Regions from separate parts of the Homo sapiens genome. Here region 2 is linked to region 1. The links are contacts of gene promoters, found by promoter capture Hi-C in blood cells and fetal thymus (Javierre and others, 2016). All regions are on one chromosome and are shown on one strand. Each heading gives the region's core, a stretch centred on a gene start or on the middle of the fragment in contact. The rest is flanking DNA. Distances are from core to core; before and after follow the strand shown.

Region 1 (2,906 bases), core at 185-2,684:
ACCCATCCCTAGTAACATTCCTAATTCTTGAATTTTTCAGGAGGAGGTATTCCAGATTGGCAAGTCCTTTAAATGCAAAGGGCTGTATTGCTTCAATAGGATTATGAGACAAAGAAAGTCTTCTAAGACTTTTAAGTACTTCAAAGGCATTTGATGGTACTTTTGTTAAATTATTACTTCCTAAATACAAACAAGCAAGGTTTTCAAGATGTTGAAAGCCTGATTCTGATATCCTCAAAATGTTATTGTTTGATAAATCAAGTATCCGAAGAGCAACCATACCAACAAAGGTACCACTCCCAAGGACAGTGAGGCGATTCCTTTGTAGATTTAAGTACTGAACTGAAACTAGATCATTAAATACTCCTCTCGGAACAAAAGATACCTGATTATACTGTAAATATAAATTACGAAGATTTAAAAGTCCCTTAAATATTCCAGGATCTAAGCGTTTGATGAAATTATTATTTAGAAATAGAAAATATAGATGCCTCAATTGAACAAAGGCTTTTGGATATACATACAGAATGTTAGAATTATCCAAATACAATGCTACAAGAGAATGAAGTCCTGTTAATTCACTTTCATTTATATAAGATATATTATTCCCAGTCAGATACAGAAAAACTGTACTTTCAGGAAAATTCTTAGGAATACTCGAAAGGCCTAAGTTACGGCAGTTAATTTGTCTCCCAGTGCAGAGCTGACAAACAGACGAACATCCAAGTATTTCTTTGTGGAGTAATAATAAAAGATAACAGGTAACAACCAGAAACAGTCGTAGGCAAGGCAGAGAAAACTGTAATCCACACATATCCCTGTTCTTGGATTTTCTGTTCAGATCAGAATTGGCTATAAAAAGAGAAGGTAAAGCTTTAAATCACGAAAACTTCATCAAATGAATTTTTTTTATAATACTATAACTTCTGTATTCTATTTTAATTAGGATCAGCCAATAATACTATCATAAATCATACCATGGTAATAGCAAAAAATAATGAGTATGGAATACGTTCTAGAATTATTAACATGATCAGGCCATTAACCCACTATTTGACAAAATAGTTCAGATTAATGAAACATTTGCTAAGTTAACTTAAAAATTACAATTGATTACAACACAGGTGACAAATGATGTAGGAATGAGAATCTTTGAATTTAATATGTCCCTTTAACAACATAAAGTCTAATATCAAATAACATTATAATTTATGAAAATACAAATTCACTACAGAACAATTAAATTCTAAATTACAGTTTTTCACAGAACTATTTTTCATGTCAGCTAGAAGTTCATATTTAAGTAAATAATCTTACCAAGAAAAGGAAATTCGTATTATTAACACTCAGCTGATTCAGTAAAGGTTTTCTTTTTAAATCTGAAGAACGACATTTCTTAACTCCAGTTTGTTCTGTGGCACTGCTGACCTCCACCCCACCACTTTTTTTTTTTTTTTTTTAAGTCACCGTTTGCTCAGGAAACACCACTCTTCACATTGGTTCCTTTACAGTCAATGTGTAAAACAGAGGTTGCCATGGATACAGGAAGCTAAGAGACAGGAAGTAATTTTATCTGTGTTTCAAAAGTATTGCTGAACGGAAATCTCAGGAACTTATTTTTTCAGAATGCAGTTAGAGTTTTCCTAATATACACATTGAAATATCTCCTATAATATAAAAATAATAGTTTTTAAAGGATACTTGAAAACATTAGTTATTCAGAACCCAAATATCAATCAACAGACTCTAGCTATCAAACAACATAGCTACTGAATGGAAAAGGCTAGTTCAAATAAGATGTATATCGAGTAATACAATTTTTTGTAAACTTTTTAATGAATAAAATATTTATGTTGTGTTAAATACGCATTGAAGACTTAAACTTTATGCTTTATTCCTTTAATAAAAATAGGGGAAAAAATTTAGAATGAACATAAATGTTGTTATATTATCCTCCAGTGCTCTTTTTAAAATTTTCAAAATATTTTTGGTTGCAAAAAATACTGAGTACTACTTAATACGTGAGGTACTAATTGGTAGTAAGCTACTAATTAGTAGTAACGCACTAATTGGTTGTGTTGGGTTATAAGATGTTAAGAAGCTGCATACCAACTTACTGACATAGGTTATCTTTGCAAGAAAAATTGGGGAGAGTAAAAGAGGCGATGTTTCGCCCTATATATATCTGTATCAGTTTGAATCTTTTAGAACAAAAATGGAGAATTTTTTAACGTCATTTTTCAAGAATTTAAAGAATCGGATATAAATTGTTTATATTATATATTGTTCAGTCATTAACTTTCTTTCATTAACTTTAAGCTAGTTGCTTAAGCTTTCTAATTCTGACTTTTATTAATATTACTAATAGCCTGATAATATTCCTAAAATATCAAGTTATATAATTGTATACAACTCTCCTTTGATATTAAAGCAGTTTCATTTCACATCAACAATTACTTTAGAAATAATATGAATTATGTCCATATTAGAAAGCTGAAATAATACCTAGCATTATCTTTCTATGACTAAAAATTCAGCAATGCATACTGGATAGCAGATCGTTATCAAAATGACTTATGATTCTTACACCTATCCATTATGGCTGGTTACTGTTATTGCTATTTTATGCATTAAAAATGGAAAACAAAACAAGTGACAGAAATGATATGAATTTGAGGTAGGGGCTATGTTTCTCAGGTCCATTTTGTTTAGTACTTCCAATAATATACAAGGTGATATGAAGCTTGTCCCATGGATTTTTCAATTTCTTGGGAAAAATTCAGAGAAAGGGTCCTTTGAAATAAAAATAAAATTAAAGAGAAAAAACCCACAAAGTAATATAACCAGAGTATGAATTAATTTTGTTCTTTATGCCAAAAATATCCAAAGCAGTAAAGAACACTTAT
Region 2 (2,901 bases), core at 240-2,739, 110 kb after region 1:
AGGATTGCTATTACAGTACTAAAGAATTATACCTTAAATAGTGTTTATGAGGTCTAAAGGCAATGGATTAAATTTAGGTTTAGAATGTAGCTGTCTACTAGACCTTCGGTTTGTAAGTCTAAAGCAATGTATTAAAATTAAGTTTAGAATGTAGCTGTCTATAAGACCTTCAGTTTGAAATCATCATATGCAACTCAGAAGTTGCTGCATCATAACGATGCAGTAAGTTTTCCTCGTTTTCGTAAGGAGAAAACAGAATTCAAATTGAATCCCTTATTCTGGATATGCTTTCTCACCACAAGACCTTGAGCCACAATACCTGAGAGGATCCTTTCCTTCTCCCTTCATCACCTAGTTAACTTCCACTTATCCTTTAAGATTACAGCTCAAAGATCACTTTCTCAGGGAAATTTTTCTGATCATATTATCAGTTATCATAATATCATAAAGCCTCTGTCACAGGTGTCACTTTAAATATATTTGTGGGATCATTTTATTAAGTCTGTCTCCCCAGTGCCAAGGATCTATAGATTTGTCGAATGAAATAATGAATGCATCCATGTCTAAAAGATACTAAATGCACGTAAGTGTAAATTCAGATAGAGATTACACAAAACAAAAATTGTAGTTTGGAGTATTTCTTCATTTCAGAACAGAAATGTATAGTTACAGAACAAAATTTTCCAGGGCAGGATATCTCTAAAAAGTTAATGTGAATCTAAGACCTTCAGATGGTGAGGTATTAAAAAGCTTAAGGCAGGCAAAGATATAGTAAAGCTACATCTTTTTCGTCAGGAGTTAGGCTTTGAAATCAATAAGGTAAGAAAACCCTATAATCAAAAGAAATCTTGAAAATTTCTTAATCATTAAATATACTACTATACACACAGCTTTGTATACACAGCCTTATATCAGTTTCTGTAATTCTTTCTGAGCAAACATTTCTCTCCAATGTCTGTAATTTCTTCCTCAAGAATGTTAACAAAACCATCTCCACTCACTTTTATAACTACTTCTACAATGGATTTTATTTTTCAACAGTCCTTTAAAATCATTCAAACATTTCTTCACAGGTTTCACAAAATGTGCTGACAGTTTGGGATTTGTGCATCCATTGTCTGGTGAAAGTAAGTGATGTATTAAGGCGATGCCAAGACTGATGGGATTCCAAGGTACCAGAATGAGTACGATAAAAGAACTTATAGGTAAAACTAAAAAGAATGCAAACTGAGAGTAAGAGAGAAACTGATGCTGCCTGAGATCAAACTAAGAAAAACAAACTAGGCCAGGCACAGTGCTCATCCCTGTAATCCTATCACTTTGGGAGGTCAAGGCAGGAGGATCACTTAAAGCTAGGAGTTCAAGACCAGAAAGATGTAAAAATCAGCCTGGTGCAGTGGCATGTGCCTGTAGTCCCAGTTACTCAGGAAGCTGCAGTGAGAGGATCACTTGAGCCCAGGAGTTCAAGGTTGTAGTGAGCTATGATTATGCCACTGCACTTCAACCTGGGAGACAGAGCAAGACCCTGTCTGTCCAAAAAAACAAAAAACAAACAAACAAAAAGAACTAAAAAAGTCTTAGCAACCAGAACAGAAAGAAGAGAGGGACTAGAAAAGTAAGAGAATAAGACAAATGAGTATATTTTAGAAGAAAAGGAACCTAGGAATACATTCATCAAGATAAACAGCTCAAGGAAAGTGAGATGGAGATTTATGCTAAGGGAATGCCTGCAAGCAACATATACCAAGACACAGGCCAAGATGGCATCCTATAAAGCACCTTCTGAAATCCAAGTGAGCCTGAGGCACTAAGATGAAAGATGGAGGCTTGCCTTTCCAGGGAAAGGAGGGATGAAAGACAGTGCTCATTCCAGCCTGGAGAAAAAATTTTAGGAAAGTTGGCATGACAAGGATAAGTGTAGGGGTCCAGAATGAGAAAAATAAAGTAGAAACAAAAACTAGAAGCATTTGAAAAAAATATATTCAGAGCCATGAGGCCGCAATAATGTGAATCTAACTATCCACTTCAACTTATTATATGTGCTTTCAAAAATCAGAAGGGGTAGAGGAAGAGCTACTGCCACAAAACTATAAATAAGCCCTTATCTTTCAGGGAGAAATAAACCTCTTATTTTTCCAGTGAAACTGGGAACAGAAAACCCGTCTAAAGGAACTATTTGGTGACTGTTCTGAGGTATCTCATTTCAAAAATGAACATATCAAGCTTAATAGTACCTTTCAATGATAGCAGTGTTCGTTCTAGTGAACTCAAAATTGCAGCTTCATTGCCAGAAGAAACTTCTTGCAGGAATGTGTCTGTGTGGTGATTCCACAGAGAGCAGGCAAAATTATAAATTCCAGAAGCTAACTGCAAAGAAAAGGCAACAAATTTATTCATAGTGTATTATACATTTCAGTAATACATTAGAACTACAAAGTAATATATTTTAGTTTTACAACTAAGCACACATTTTCTGAGAGATCTGAAATAGTCAAAGAATATTTGTGGCAATGTTTCATACTTTTTTAGCCACAATGCACAGTAACACATACAGCTTACACTGGCTGCTAAACACACACAGACACACCCCTAAAATACTAGTTTCTTAAAACAATATTAATACCTCATCAAATGCCTGCATTGCAGTCTTATATATTCTATTTTTATTCTTTTTATCTCCACTAATAGGTTGCAATCTCAGTTTAAAACAATGATTTATGGACTGTCACTGAGTATGTCAGATAAATCAATATATGAAGATATACAAAGGAGAAAGCCTTCCGTGTTCTGCCAGTTCTACGCATATGGCTTTTGCACATTTAATGCCAGGAACATACAAACCACATGGTTTCTCAGTTGCTTTACTAAAGTGTGCTGATATTTAAAAACCTGACCCTCACA

What was found. The method cuts DNA at HindIII sites, captures the fragments that hold promoters and counts their contacts. A CHiCAGO score of 5 or more calls a contact.
Region 2: a fragment that was not itself captured here is called in contact with the fragment with the promoter of LRRC70 in region 1 in 2 of 17 cell types (endothelial precursors and erythroblasts); the score reaches 7.7 in endothelial precursors.

The regions. Positions count from the first base shown.
Region 1 is chr5:62,577,347-62,580,252 of GRCh38, reverse strand. LRRC70 (leucine rich repeat containing 70) reads right to left here and starts at 1,434. Exons shown (of 2, transcript NM_181506.5): 1 at 1,318-1,434; 2 at 1-852. The coding sequence starts at 814. All of the region lies in intron 27 of IPO11 (importin 11), which reads right to left. It overlaps IPO11-LRRC70 (IPO11-LRRC70 readthrough), which reads right to left and starts at 1,518. Exons shown (of 4, transcript NR_073584.1): 1 at 1,318-1,518. The HindIII fragment of the contact is 1,459 bases long and covers 876-2,334 here.
Region 2 is chr5:62,466,597-62,469,497 of GRCh38, reverse strand. It overlaps IPO11 (importin 11), which reads right to left. Exons shown (of 30, transcript NM_016338.5): 6 at 2,235-2,367. Among named protein-coding and RNA genes, the nearest start is that of IPO11, 55 kb to the right of the region's middle. The HindIII fragment of the contact is 1,473 bases long and covers 753-2,225 here.